Linked DNA regions of Homo sapiens: region 2 is linked to region 1. The links are contacts of gene promoters, found by promoter capture Hi-C in human tissues and cell types (Jung and others, 2019). All regions are on one chromosome and are shown on one strand. Each heading gives the region's core, a stretch centred on a gene start or on the middle of the fragment in contact. The rest is flanking DNA. Distances are from core to core; before and after follow the strand shown. Region 1 holds the start of TBX2 (T-box transcription factor 2). Region 2 overlaps BCAS3 (BCAS3 microtubule associated cell migration factor).

Region 1 (7,504 bases), core at 3,251-5,750:
CAGGGGAGGGTGGCAGCCCTGGCATCTCAGGATCACCTTGCTGTAGGAGCAGGGGTAGGCAGCTCAGCAGCACCGGCTTCTTAGGAGTGGGTTTGGACTTGCTCTCTTTAAGGTCCCAGGGTCCCATCCCAGCTCTGCCACCAGCAGGTACGTGGCCTTGGGTACATGACTGCACCTCTGGGATTCAGGGTCCTCATGTGTAAAGGAGGGAGTGGAGGGGAGAGAGCAGCATGCCCTTCCGAAGGCGCGACAGAGCAGAAGCAGGCAGAGGGGAAGCTGCGGGTCCACAAGGCAAACCCATGGTTCGAGGGGAAGTTGACAGCCAGGCCAGGTGCCCCTTAGCAGGGATGGGGAGGGCGGAGGCGGCACAGCTGGAGCCCGGATTGTGGCACGCCGTCACCGTGCTGCTCCGGGGAATCCCGACCCGCTCCCTGCGAAAGCGTTTCCGAACGCGAACCCAGAGCCTGTGAACGCGCCGGCAAGCCCCCCACTCCCCCACCGCCGCCCGTCGCAGGTGGGCCCGTCCTAGGGGTCCTTCCTGCGCTCTACCCCGTCTCTCAAGTCACTCAGTCGATCGCCCCGTTCACGCTCCCGTGATCCCAGACATCCATAACCACGATCTCGCCTCCATGCACATCCAACGCACGACGGTGCACAGACGTGCACCTGACTTCTGCGGACCAGGTGTCTCAAGCGTACAGCGGCCACCCGCGGAACCGCGGCCCGGGGCCAGTGAGTCGTCTGCAGCTCCCCGGGTTAGGGGATTCCCCAGAACTCCGGGAAAGTCACCCGAAGTCCATCCGGGATGCGGCCTTGGTTCTCGGCCGCGTGATCTCGCCCTTAGGTGCAGAACGACGCCCTTCCAGGGCCCACAGCTGCCAGGCTGGGCCTTGCCCTCGCATCCCCCGGGAAGACCAGGGACGGGGCCACACAGGCCGTGGCTGCGGAGACGCTTCCCCGGGCCACCCCGCGACCAGGAGGGAGTCGAGCCGCCCGCTCTCCCCGCGTCCCCCGCCCCATCCCAGCCAGTTGGCCCCACCCTGCGCGGGATAATTGGGACGGGAGGGAGGCGACGGGAGGGCGGCGGCTCCAGAGAGACTGCGCGCCTGTCAGCGGCAATTTGTTTAAGTGGACGGGACGGGCCGGGCCGCTGCGGGCTGGGGTCACCGAGGCCGCGGCCCCCACCCCAACCAGACCTGGGACCGCGGGGGAGCCCGGTCCGGCCGCTAAACCGGGCTGGCTGGCGCCAGGGCTCCGGGAGGTGCGGTCCGGCGGGGAAGCCGTGATGGGAAGCGACTCTGTCCAGGGAGTGTCCTTCACCACCACACTCCTCACGTCCAGGCAGTGATCGACGGCCTGGCGGCACCCTCACAGCGGGCCCATAGCACGGGGCCACACACGTCCCCTGAGCTTAGCCTGGGCACATTCGTCTGCCACCGAGGGCTTAAGCCAGTCTGCAGCCCGCGCCCCGTCACTCGGACGCAAGTCCGTCGTCCGCTCTGCCACGCGGCCGCACAGCCCGAGCTTCCTGCTGCCCACTGCCCGCGGGGTCACGCAACCCCGGCCCTGCACACAGAGGAGGAAGCGGCGGGGACCCCCTGCCACCTGGAGGCTCAACCCGGGGAAGGTCCCAGCAGTGCCCCTTAACCCTGCGAGAGGTGACGGGGCCGGAGGACGGAAGGGCAGCCACGCCAGGCTCAGGACCGCGGCCCCACCCGGCCCAGGCCGTCCCCGCTCCCGCCCCATTTCACTGTTGCGGGAAGCGCGGGGCGCACAGACCGCGCGCCACCAGCCCAAGCCCGCCCGACGCCCTGGCCGGAGACCGCCTGCGAGAGGGAGGGGCGGCCGAGCGCGCGTCCCCCGCCTGTCTGCGGGACCTGGCCGATGCGAAGTGACAGGGGCCGGAGCTTTGTTGTGGAGCCTCGGCCGCCTGGCGCCAGCCGCCCCCGCCCGCGCCCTCCCCCTCCAGCCCCGGGCGGCCCGCGAGGCGCCCCCCGGGGCCTCTTAAAGGAACACGCACACTCGGCCCCCGGGGCTCCGCCAGGGGAGGGGGTTCCTGGGAAGGGGGAGGGGGCCGGCCTAGGTGGGGGAGGGGCCCAGCGGAGGCCTCACGGCGCCGCTCCAGGGCCTCCCAGGCCTCCCCAGCGCCAGCTTTCGGTGAGCCTCGGGCATTCCTAGCTGGAGAGTTTGGCTGGGGGTCGCTACAGACTCTTCAGAGCGGCTGCAGCAGGACCTCAGGGTGATCGCGGGACCGCGGGGCGGGGCGAGTGGTGGGATCCTGGCCCGGACAGAGCCCCGGAAAGCCAGAGGGAAGGTCGGTGCCACTGTAGGTGGGGTCGCCGTCCCCAGATGCAGCCGCTGCACTGTCGCCGCCAGGTTTCTCGGTCAAATAACCCAGGCCTGAGTGTTTCAAACTCTTCAGGCCTCGGACCCCTGGACCAGCTATGGATGGACTAATGAAATGGACTAATGTCTAAAACGCACACATTTAGATGTACACATACTCTTACAAGGACAAAAGTATGTGTCTACACACACACACACACACACACACACACACACGCGCGCGCGCGCGCGCGCGACTTTGCGAATGTATTCACGGATTCCTAGGCCGGTACCTGGGTTCCCGGCTAAGGAAAGCTGCCCTGGTTATTATCTGGTCACCTCACCGGCTGCGCAAACGTGTCCACAACGGGTCCCTCCCCGAGAGGCCACATCTCGCCTAAGGTGGAGCCAGCAGGTATTTGCCTGTGGAAAACTGCAGTGGATCCTGCCCCGTCTGCGTAGACTGCGCAGCTCGGAGTCAAAGATTCGTTCTGGCCAGAGAGGAGGTACTAAGAGAGGTGCGACCTAGCCAAGAACGAGGTCGTGGAGAAAACCCTGTGGGGGCGGCGCTCACATATGCGGTGATGAGGAGTTGTGAGGGCCCTGGGGTCGGCCCCGAAAAGTAGGGATAACGGTCGCAGAGGCCATACTGCTTCCGCCGGTCCCGAATCCGCACTGCCAGGAGAGATCCGGCCTTCAAACGCTGCTCCCAACGTTCAACAACGAAGTGCCCTGCGACCGGTGTGCGCAGTGGGCGGGCGCCTGCATGGGTCAATGTTGGATGTACGCGCCCACCACGCGGTTGTACGGGTGGGAATGTCACCCGTGGCTAGTGCATGCTCTGTCTTTTCCTTCAGAAAACGACCTTCAGGAATCAGCCTGAGTGTTCGCGCCCGAGCCCGATTGGAAGCAGGTGCGTGGTCGCTTCACTCTCCCCGTGCACACCTTGAGTTATAGCTCTCGCTGCGCACAGAGGGCACCACACGGGGCCCGACACACACACACACACACACACACACACACACACACACACACACACCATCACTTCATGGGGGGGAAACTGAGGCTGCCGGAAGACAGAAAACGAAGACTGATCACAGAAGAGGGGGCTTCAATCACAGGTGCTCGCAGACACCCCAACTCCCTCACGCGTTACTCAGCACTCCTTAACTTAGGAGACGTGCGCTTCCGAGAGATGAGAAGAAACTAAAAAAGTGGTTGGCAGGGCGAAGAGAGGAAGCCGGTATTTCGGAAGAAGGAGACTTTCGTCTCCGGTACCGGATAGGGCGAAAATTCGTTGGGTCGCGGGTGGAGAATCCGGGGTCCGCCCGCGCGGTGCCGCCCTGTGCTCAGCGAAAGGTGCGCTCACCTTCCTGGCCCCGAGGATCCGCTCCTCCCGGCCGCTGGAAAGCTCAGGGCGGGGCCCGGGCCTGCGGAGAACTCCAGGTTCCTTCCGAGTCTTCCGGTGAAGGCGGGCGCGGGTAGGGGGTCCCCGCGTTTCCCCAGCGCAAGGCCGCGTCCCGCTCCCGCCCGCGCCGGCCCCAGCAGGGCTCGGCCATGGCTCCACTCACCAGCTCCCGCCACCTGGGATCCGCTCCCGGACCTCGGCCGCCCGAGCCTCCCGACTCGCCCGCCCACCGGCCTCGCTTTCCAGTGCCTGCTGTCTCTTTCCGGGGCGCAGGGACCCCCAGGCGGCGCCACGACCCGGAGCTGGGTCGGAGGCCAGGCTGGGGCTCGGGCCAGAGCGGCCGGGCCTCTGGGCGCGGGAGAAGGAGGGCGCCCCCTCTCCGCTCGGGGTCGTGTCAATGCTTTGCACTTGGGGCCGGCGTGCGGCTGCGGGTCCTTCCCCAAGGCCCCGGGACCCGGGCTCCCCTCGCCTCAGGCCCTTTCGGCGGGTCAGGTCGGCCCTCCGCGCTCTCCAGTCCGGCGCAGGCAGCCGCAGGCGCGGGCGGGCGGTGGGGGCCGGGGCAGGAGGAGGGGTCTCGGGGCCCGGCGGCCCGTCATTGGTTAATATTTTATTCTGTTGACATGTTTTCTTACTGCTGAGGCTTCCGACACCTTCTCCCAGGCCCCCCCTCCCGGCCGGAGCTTGGCCTGAGCTGTCAAAACCCCGCCCCCGGAGACCCACAATTGGTCCAAAAAGCGTAAAATCAGCAATCAAGGGGGGCCTGGCTCGTTAGCGCAGGGGATCCGAGCTGGGCAGGACATGTGAGATAGTCACAGTTTTCCAGAGATCACGACAAGATCTAACCAGTCGCGCGTGGTCCCCGGCGCCGGAGCGGGCCAGCTCAGCCCGGCCCAGCCCGGCCCCGCGCAGAGCCCCCGCCGCCCCCGCGCACAGAGCCGGGTGCCCCTTGCGGTGCGCCGGACGGGAAGCCCCGAGGAGCAGCTGCTGCGCCCGCCACCCGGGTCGTCCGTCCACCGCGCGCGCCGCCGCCCGGGCCGGGGGTCCGAGCCGCGCGCCCCCGGCCCCGGCCCCGGCCCCCGGGCGCCTGGGCCGGATGTCCCGATGAGAGAGCCGGCGCTGGCGGCCAGCGCCATGGCTTACCACCCGTTCCACGCGCCACGGCCCGCCGACTTCCCCATGTCCGCCTTTCTGGCGGCGGCGCAGCCCTCCTTCTTCCCGGCACTCGCGCTGCCGCCCGGCGCGCTGGCCAAGCCGCTGCCCGACCCGGGCCTGGCGGGGGCGGCGGCCGCGGCGGCGGCGGCGGCAGCAGCGGCCGAGGCGGGGCTGCACGTCTCGGCACTGGGCCCGCACCCGCCCGCCGCGCATCTGCGCTCCCTCAAGAGCCTGGAGCCCGAGGACGAGGTGGAGGACGACCCCAAGGTGACGCTGGAGGCCAAGGAGCTGTGGGACCAGTTCCACAAGCTAGGCACGGAGATGGTCATCACCAAGTCCGGGAGGTAGGGCTGCCGGCCGGCTGGAAGGCGCGCGGGCGGGCGGGCGGGCTGGGGCACGGGACTGCACGGATCAGAGCAGAGCTGGGGACTCCCGGCTCCCGGCTCCCGGCTCCAGGTTCTGGCCCTGACGCCACGCTTCGCTCCCACGGACAACCAAGTTGACTTTTCTCGTTTGGCACCGGAGCGATTTTTTTTTAAAACAAAAACGCTAAAATCCTCCGAATGAAATAAAACGAAAACATACTGCTAAAGAATAGCCCCAACCGTTCTGAGTCCCAGCGCAGAGGAGGCCCCGCGGCTTGGCCCTGGCGGTCTCCTCCGCCCCGCGCTCTCGCTCTTCTGCGTCCGGGTCCGTCTCCGAGCTCGGGGGAAATTCAGCCTCTCTCAGACTCTGCTCCGACCCCGAAGCCCCTAGTGGGACCTGGGCCCAGCTAACCCCACGCTGGTTGCTCGGTTCCTGGCAGCGAGCCCCGGGTCAGCCGAGCCCTCCGCCTCACCGGGCTGGGAGCCCTTTCTCCACCGCGGGCATCCGAGCCCTGGACGCATCCGCCGCCCCAGGCCTTAAAGCCTGAAGAAAGCCACAGCCCCGGCCCCTCCACCCTTCGACTCAGCCACCGAGAATCCAGGCCTCGGGTTCACCCTCTTCCCCCGAACTGCACGGCCAGGATGTCTTATCAGGCTCTGTAGCCCAGTTCCCAATACAAACACCCTCCAGATTTATTTCTGGGAGCTTCCGTCCCAAGTGGGTATTTCCCCTGAACGAATTTCGGGGAGATTAAGGAGAAGCGAGAATATTTCTAGAGGGCCTAGACTTCTCTCCTGGGCATCAGCTTTCATCTCAGATCAGGGAGAAAGAGGGTCCCCAGATCTGAGCACAAGGCCTAAAGGAGGCTGTTTAGGAGAGGGTCTGACAGGCAGAAATGGGATCTCCTGGGAGCAACAACCACAGGTGGGGTCGTCCGGGCAGTGATGAGAGGGCAGAGCAGCCGACCACAGGGGAAACAGCCAGGCGGCAGCGGTGTGCGCAACGAGGAGGGATAAATAAAGGAGGAGTGGGGTCCTGGAACCTAGAACAGCCGGTTCCAATGGGATCTCCTCCCTTCCCTCCCTCCCAGGCGGATGTTCCCCCCCTTCAAGGTGCGAGTCAGCGGCCTGGACAAGAAGGCCAAGTATATCCTGCTGATGGACATTGTAGCCGCTGACGATTGCCGCTATAAGTTCCACAACTCGCGCTGGATGGTGGCGGGCAAGGCCGACCCTGAGATGCCCAAACGCATGTACATCCACCCAGACAGCCCAGCCACGGGGGAGCAGTGGATGGCTAAGCCTGTGGCCTTCCACAAGCTGAAGCTGACCAACAACATCTCTGACAAGCACGGCTTCGTGAGTGTTGGGGCAGGGTGGGGACGGTGCAGGAGCTTGTTGACCCAGCACTGCAGCTGAGCAGGAGAGCAGGGCGGCAGGATCTCCCAGGGGGAAGCGCTGGGCAAACCCCCAGAGTGCCCCTGCCCGGGTCACTGCCCTGTGGTCTACGTGGGCTGGGCCTGGGCCTGGGCCCCAGCGCTCTCCTTTGCAAGCCTGGGAAATGGTGGGGTCAGTGGCTGGCAGCTCACAATCTCAGTTCCTCAGGCCGTGGAGGGTCCCTTGTACCGTCAATAGGGAGGCAGGTGCTGCCAGGACTGGGTCTGCAGTGCTGGACCACGGAGGTCACCCTGCTCTTGGCCTGTAGGTGCCGAGCTTGGAAGACCTGCCCATGACCTCAACTTGTCCATCACCCTTCTGCCAAGACCCGCGTCCCTGGCCCTCCCCCAAGACTAGGGGATTTAAAAGTTAAACCACCCTCCCCACCCACCCCCCCAGCCTCCCTAAGACCTTTCCCTCCTCCCACAGGCAGATGCCCAACTAGGAGGAGAGGGTTTGGGGGTTCTCTCCATTTATGCCTGAGCAAGGCCCCAGCGAACGGGGGTGGTGTTTCATAGGGTAAAAGGAACTGCCCATTCTGAGGTAGGGCAGTTGGTGAGCCCCCGAAGGTTGGAATCTCCTCTTTGTGGGGTTAGGGGGTTTACCAGTGCCAGAAAGGAAGAGAGTGTTAAGAGTGGAATTGTAGGGCTCTGTTTTGTTTTATTTTGTTTGGGTTTCTTTTGTGGGGAGGGGTTGTTTTTTGGTTGGTTTTTTTGTTTTGTTTTTTGTTTTGTTTTGTTTTTGCTCTGTCTCATTTCTGTTTCCAACTGGGAAATTTTTTTTAATGGCAAGAGAAAAAGAAGCTGTGAAAAGAGAA
Region 2 (7,504 bases), core at 2,259-4,758, 300 kb before region 1:
AGGGTTTATTATTTCACTATGAAGTATAATGACAATAAGCAAAAATTTATCAAAACTGAAGCAGAGAGAGAAAAATACTGAAATAAAATAGAACTCACTGTGAGCGGTATATCAAACTATAGCAGTATCAAACTGTCTAACATCTGTGTAATTATTTCACATATGTGGAAGAAAAGAAGAGGATATGGCAAAAGAAATGCATGAAGGGTTGAGAATTTTCCAAAGTTAATGAAAGACATAAGTCAAAGTTTTAAGAAACTCAGTGTATGCTGAGTGAGATATTAATAAACACAAAGAAAACCATACGTAGACATATTATAATCAAACTGTTCAGATCTAAACATAAGGAAGGAATTTTAAGAAGCCTACTCTGTTTCTTTATTTGTTTTTTTCTTTTTTCTTTTTTGAGACTGAGTCTCGCTCTGTCACCCAGGCTGGAGTGCAGTGGCGCAATCTCGGCTCACTGCAAGCTCCACCTCCCGGGTTCATGCCATTCTCTTGCCTCAGCCTCCCGAGTAGCTGGGACTACAGGCGCCCGCCACCACGCCTGGCTAATTTTTTGTATTTTTAATAGAGACGGGATTTCACCATGTTAGCCAGGATGGTCTCGATCTCCTGACCTTGTGATCCGCCTGCCTCGGCCTCCCAAAGTGCTGGGATTAGCCACTGTGACCAGCCTCTTTATTTCTTAGGTTTATATTTAAGTGATGGTTTGGACTTTTGATAAAAAGAGAAATTGGAAAAGTAGCAGGGTGATTTTTAAGTTTCCTTGGCAGTGTGAGATCCCCATGTCTGAATAATCAAGAGGCTCTATGAGGAATCTTCAGGATATTTTTCAATAGACAGAAGTAAAAGAGATGGGAAACCAGTATTAATTTATAAACAGTTAGGTGCCCAACACTGTGCTAGGTCTTGCCACATGTCTCATCTCATTTAATCTTCTTTAATTAGGATCAAGGTCCATTTTAGCAATAGTCAAAGAACAGGACTTAGGACACCTAGCTCCTGATACTTAAAATTACTTAAAGTGCATTATGGTGACACCTCAGATAAGTCTAAACCTCTTTCTACCCTGCCTAATCAAATATTCATTTCAAAACACTGTATGCTGAAATGAGCCACGTGGGAGTTGAAGAGAATCAACTATTCAGGTGGTGAAAATGTGTGAATGCAGCTGGCAGATGAAGTTCCAGTGTGATGAATTCCCAGCTTGTCCTTATTGCTTTAGGCAACAACTGACAGGCCTGACTGGTCATTGGCTTTCCATTCCTGGCATTGATATGACTGAAAATTCTTAATGTCACAGATCCTTAAAAGCTGTCTCTGTTATCATGGATATAAATGGTGCTGGAGGGTCCTTCTTGCATAGAGAGGTAATCAATATGGTCTAGAGTTCTTGACCTGAACCTGTAATTACTTGGACATTTTGAAGGTAGCTTGTTGTTACAGAATATTCATATATTCAGAACATTGGGACTGAGTTGTGCATGGAGAGGAGAAAAATAGAGTCTTTGTCCCCCTTTCTGTTCTTAGTATTTAAGAGGCCTTCATAATCACAGAAGAGAGTGATATTATAGGATTAGAACATTGTATTTTTGGTTTTGGGTGCTGAAGTTCTAATCTTACCTCTGAAGTGATCCTGATATTTTGCCAAAGTTGTGACTTTAATATTCTGTGGCTTGTAATTGTGATTTTTCTAATACCAGAGTAGAATTCTGGGGAGGAATTTTTCTAAACCCAAATACCTCAATTTGAAGTGAGGCTTGGCTTTAAATAATAACACATTTGAGTTTGAGCTTTTCCTGCAATTAAGTGGTATGCTGCAAAAAGGAATTCGGTTAGCAGATTTTATGGCATCCATGATCCATGGACAAGAGTGAGTAGAAGGAGATGATACTGATAGCAATTCTTAAGTCTCTAAATGTTTTTACGTTGTTGTGATCAGGATTTCTTTGCCAAATGAAAACGGTAAAAGTGGAAGCATGAAACACCTTAACAGTAGGTGTGGATCCTGATTGTTCTGTTACTGCTTGGCTTAAGATACCCCTGGATGGGCTGGGTGTGGTGGCTCACACCTGTAATACCAGCACTTTGGGAGGCCGAGGCAGGTGATCACCAGGTCAGGAGATCGAGATCATCCTGGCTAACACGGTGAAACCCCATCTCTACTAAAAATACGAAAAATTAGCCGGGCATGGTGGCGCACACCTGTAGTCCCAGCTACTCAGGAGGCTGAGGCAGGAGAATGTCATGAACCTGGGAGGCGGAGCTCACAGTGAGCTGAGATCGCACCATTGCACTCCAGCCTGGGTGACAGAGTGAGACTCTGTCTCAAAAAAAATAAAAGATACTCCTGGATGGCATTATTATTGGATTACCTTATATGTAGCATGCTTAGAACAGAGGGGGAAAAATGATGGCTTATAATAAAGGACTGTTTGAGAACAAGGGCTGTCTTTGTATCTCCCTTTGCCTGGTATTGGTACCTTCCACAGAGCAGATAATCAATATTTCTTGATATCTGATTAATAATGATAGTCAGTGATGATTAATAATGATAGTCAGTGATAATCAACAATGATAACCATTGTTGATTTCTTATAAAACATAAGGCTTTAAATATCATAACATGATTACAAGTTGGTAATGCTGAGTCTTTATCTTCGTTACCTGACTTAAACCTGGTCCTCAGTTAGGTTTGCCCTTATGTTATGATCACTATTCCTTTGTATGGGCCTATGGTCAATTGTGTAATCAAGTGAAATATTTTACAAAGCATTTCAAATTATCTTTTATGTTATGCTTTTAAAGCAGCATTATGTTTAAACAGAATATTTCTTTGATACAAGCTTTCGTTCTATTAGGCTTAGCATGGAAATTTTTGTTTTAAGGTTATCTTTATAAAGCATTAACTCTAGCGAAGTCTTGCTTTCTGGAATCTATGGTCAGGACTGGTAAACATCTGTTGAAAAGAATGGACAGGCTTTTGCTTTCTGCTCTTACTAGGCTAACTTTCAGACATAATTTTAGGGATATTTTGGGCTGCCTTTGAAGCTAGCCCATTTTGGGCATAGGACATTGGCATATGGAGAACTGACCCTAAGTTCCATTAAGCCAAAACATTTTGTTGAAGAATTTCCAAAATTTTAGTGGTGTCATTACAGTTTAGTTACTTGTACTTATGCTCTAGACAGCTACAAGAAACATGGTAGAATTGACTTCTGTTGTATGAAGTGGCGTCTTGAGTCTTAAACCTATTTTACTTTGGTGTTCTACAATATTTGGAAAGGCAACAGTTATTATATAAATGTTCAATGTTAAGACTGTAGAGAACACTAAGTTACACTTGACACTTAGTTGAACTCCCCAGTCAGTTATCCCTTCTTTAGATGAGTTTATGTAGTTCTCAAATGAATGCTTGTAAGACTGGGAACAGAACCCATTTACTCTTCTGTTTCTCTCTACCTAAAGAGGAAATAGCGAACCCTATGATCTTCTATTTGGGCTACCTTTTCCTTTTCCTATGTTAGAAATTCATAGCCATGAGTCAGTACCTCAAATTAGAGTTTTTATAGCCATGAGAGGGACCCAGTTCCTGAATCAGACGGCTTAAGCCAGAGAGAACTTACTATGGTGCCTGACACTTTTCATTTCTCTTGAAACATGTTCTTAATCTTTCTCTTTATTCCAACTCACCCCCTTGATTAAATTAATTACTTTCTCATGTGTTCTTAAACTTTTACTGTTATGTGTACCATCTGATATTAAAATTAGTTGGGTATTGTTTTTCATTCTAGACTATGAGCTCATCTTTGTACTCCCCGTAGCTCCCTGAATGGTTTTGACACATAATAGGCACTCAGCAAATGTTAATGAATTCAATATTTCATCATGGAACATTGAAACCAAGTTCTTGCATTTGCCTGGAACAGTAATTACCTCCTCAAAGAGAAACTGTGTGGCTAGGGAGCAGAAGTGACAAGGAGACCATCTTTCCACTAGAGTCCTTTACAACACGGCCCTGCATTATCCATGCAAACATAAATTAAACTCTGTTTTTAACAACATACTTTTTAGATTTTTTGTTTTCAACAGTTGAAGATGCTGAGGTTAAGAGATTTAAATAACTTGTCTACTGTCACAGAGCTAGTAGATGGTAGAGCAAAGGTGTGAATCTGTGAAACCTTCATTTTTTCCCGGACCTTGAACAGCATCTCAGCCAACCTTGATTTCATTCATATAATCATCAGGGCATGTATGTGACCTAAGAACTATTTATATTTATTCTTTTTATCATATACTGTTGTATCATAGAGGACACAAAATACATCACCTCCACTCTGGAATGGCACCTCTATTTTAAAAGACCATTGGCAAAACCTCTCCGATGAGATTTTGATGATGGAAGAATGTTATATTCAAGACTCACCTAACTATACCTGCATCTCACAGATACTTATCCTTTAAGCAGTAAACAGTTATTTTCAGCTAGGAAAGCCACTCTCAATCAGGTAGTGGTTTCTTAAGCTGAAAAAGGCTTTCCACTTAAGAATCGTGATAGGCCAAGGTCATTACCTTTCCGTCTACTTATGGGAAAATTCAAACTAAAGGAATACCAGTGTTTGAAACTCACAATTCACTCTATAGTGGGGAGTGGGGGAGTGCAAGGCAAGCAAAGTGATTATATTTCCCTTAGAAATATTGTTAACTATTTTTTCAAAATATGGATTAAAGCTTAAAACATACCCAAAATACACTGATTCTAAATGGACCTGACACCTTGATCTTCAATCATGGAATAACATATGAGTGAGGATTCCCAATGGACCATTGTACACTACAATATTTATTACTATAAAGATCTAAGAGCTCTTAGCCACTTTCAAACTTTTAAGAGTTGTTCAGCTCTCATCCTCTTGACTTGTGTTTTCACATTTTAAAATTCTGGTTTGTTTTGTGTGATGTATTCAGAATTACCTCCCTACCTTGATTTCAGAATAATATTTGGCTTTTTAATAAATTTAAGGAAGTGCAGATATGAAAGTATACCCATTAATGCATGGGGACTGCAGTACCTTTAACTGGCCCATTTTTGGCCTCTGTTTATCCATCTGCAAAACGGTGACTAGGTTTTGCCTTCTAGTTAGTTGATATGATAAAAATACTAATAAATTGAAAGGCTGTGGGATGATACCTTTATCAGTTCCTTCTATGGATGGTGTAATTTTCACTGTAGTTTACTTTAGCATATATGGTCTCAAGAATAAAAATAAGGAATTACTAAGGAACCTCCTGAATGCAATACTATTAACATTCACAAAAATAGCTATATGCAAATTAGTAGATGTCCTTAGCTGAGACAAAATTATTTTGAGGTTGTGATCATGAAAATTAACGTAAGCTGATATAATTTTGAATTGTATGCATCTGTTTTCATGAAAGAAACCTATTTGGAGAGGTTTATTCTTGAAAAATTATGGAATTAAAAGTTAAATAGGATTCTTAACATCTGTTTTTAAATCTTGAATTATATGCAGCTCATAGAGTTTCTCTCCTGTATGCATATTAAATGATATATAATGAACTATCAGTGGTTTTAGGTAACATTTGGTTACTGAATACACTATGCTAAGCATTTCACGTGCATTATCACCTGTATTCACAAAATATTATGAGGTAAAAGCACTGTTACAATTTCCATTTTTTTCAGAAGAAGGTGTGATTTAGAGAAATTAAGTACTGTATACTACCTCCCAACTTTGGCAGTGTCATCTGAATTTTTTTGTCATGAACATGTTTTACATAGCTTGTTGTTAAAGTCCATTTTTGATAAATTTTTTGAATAGACGTGTGTAATGCAAGTGCATGAGCTTTGTGGTTAGGTGTAGATTTCATTCCCATTTCTGTAGCTGACTGGGTACATGACCTTGAGTTTCTTTGTCCATAAGAAGAGTATAGGAACATCTGTCTCTGATGTTGTAAAAATTAATAGATAATAAAAATCTTCTGGCCATAGTTCAGGTACATAACAAGGACTCATTAAATGTCAGTTGTCACCACCTTACCTTCTTTCCGTAAAATATTTCCTTTCTGTCTGTCCCAAAGTTTTAGTTTTGCTCTTCACGTGTATCATAATGTATTATGAGCATCCTAAGAAGATAGGTTATACTATTGTCCCCATTTTACAGTTGAGAAAACAGACTGAAATGTTGTAGATTCCTGGTTGAATCCCTATAGCAGTCTGATTCCAGAGCCTGTGTTTTTAGCTATAATGTGCTTTGGTATGAAGATATATTCCAATAACAGATTATATTCTGATATTTCAGACAAGAATCTAAATCCCAGAAATTATTCTCTTGTACCCGCATCCCTACCATTCAGTTCTTCCCTTCTTAGATTATGCTGGTATAACAGTGTATCTCCTTATTACTCTTGTAATAAATTTGTATATTAAATGCTCAAACACCCTTCTGATTCTAAAATCTGTGATCCTCTGTCATTTGGATACATTTGCAGTAGTCTGAGGCAGCTCTGAGAATCGTTTAAGGGAAAAGTATTCATCACTGTGGCTTTAGTAAGGAATATGTTGACATTTTTACTCTAACTCCAGGAACTCCTACTGACCTGAAATTAACCAGTTCATGGAGGTTTTTGGTGGGGACTAAGGAATGAAATTAACTCCCTAAGTCTCCTCTTCTTAAAAAAGAACCTCAAAATACTGCTGCCCAAATGGATTTAACTTTAGTTATATTTGTTTTTACATGCAAATACATTTTACTCAGCCTAAAAAGGCAAAGAAATGAAGCTATTTGGTTTGCAGAGGAACAGATCACTCTCCTGAGCATGTCAGACTGTTTATGTGTGTTTTTCACTCCATCTTACTCTGTCTTTGTCTTTCATGTTCTTTTTTCTGTCTCTGTTTCAGTTTGTCCTGTTTCTATTGCTCCCTCACAGCAACTATCTTCCTATTTTGATAATCCTGTTTCATCTCTATAAGGAAAAGGCTCTCTCAAGGATGCAGAAAATGTTACTATTTTTATAACAGTCCCTAAATACACAAAAGATTTTAACTTGGCTATAAAACTTTGTTCTTGGCATAAATTTGGCAGATAGTCTTTCGCCTGGGTGAGACTTTTCATTGGGATCCTGGAAGTGTTGGGATGTCACTATTCTCCACTCTTGCTTCTCCAAGTATGACATTAGTGGTTTTAGCTCTTGTTGACCCATCTTTAAACCAAAGCTTTATAGCCTATTAGAAGCACAGTGTGGATTTTTCTTATGATACGTTGGAATAAAAGAAAAAACTTTTCTAAAGTTACAAATGGTTTCATTTACCAAAATGACTATTTCACTTGGAAAGTTTTGTCTTTTCTGTAAAAATTCCAGGAGTTGGGTGGGCTTGATGTCCTCTCTCCCATTCCACCTCCCCACCCACAGACTCATGTCAGCAAAGATGCTGAGAGTTTTATTCCAGTCTTTTAGGAGGCGAGACCTTGACCAAGGA

The links. Contacts are between HindIII fragments. The study calls those that stand out against the background at their distance.
Region 2: a fragment that was not itself captured here is called in contact with the fragment with the promoter of TBX2 in region 1 in 2 of the 25 tissues and cell types used here (H1 embryonic stem cells and mesendoderm cells).

The regions. Positions count from the first base shown.
Region 1 is chr17:61,395,343-61,402,846 of GRCh38, forward strand. It overlaps TBX2 (T-box transcription factor 2), which reads left to right and starts at 4,501. Exons shown (of 7, transcript NM_005994.4): 1 at 4,501-5,229; 2 at 6,342-6,609. The coding sequence starts at 4,835. It overlaps TBX2-AS1 (TBX2 antisense RNA 1), which reads right to left and starts at 4,264. Exons shown (of 2, transcript NR_125751.1): 1 at 3,897-4,264. RefSeq lists an enhancer at 1,786-2,337, promoters at 3,458-4,718, 4,338-4,585 and a cis regulatory region at 4,574-4,585. The HindIII fragment of the contact is 8,441 bases long and covers 2,889-7,504 here.
Region 2 is chr17:61,096,791-61,104,294 of GRCh38, forward strand. All of the region lies in intron 22 of BCAS3 (BCAS3 microtubule associated cell migration factor), which reads left to right. All of the region lies in intron 2 of BCAS3-AS1 (BCAS3 antisense RNA 1), which reads right to left. It overlaps LOC124904041 (a long non-coding RNA gene), which reads left to right. Exons shown (of 2, transcript XR_007065871.1): 1 at 1-7,504. Among named protein-coding and RNA genes, the nearest start is that of BCAS3-AS1, 35 kb to the right of the region's middle. The HindIII fragment of the contact is 4,958 bases long and covers 1,030-5,987 here.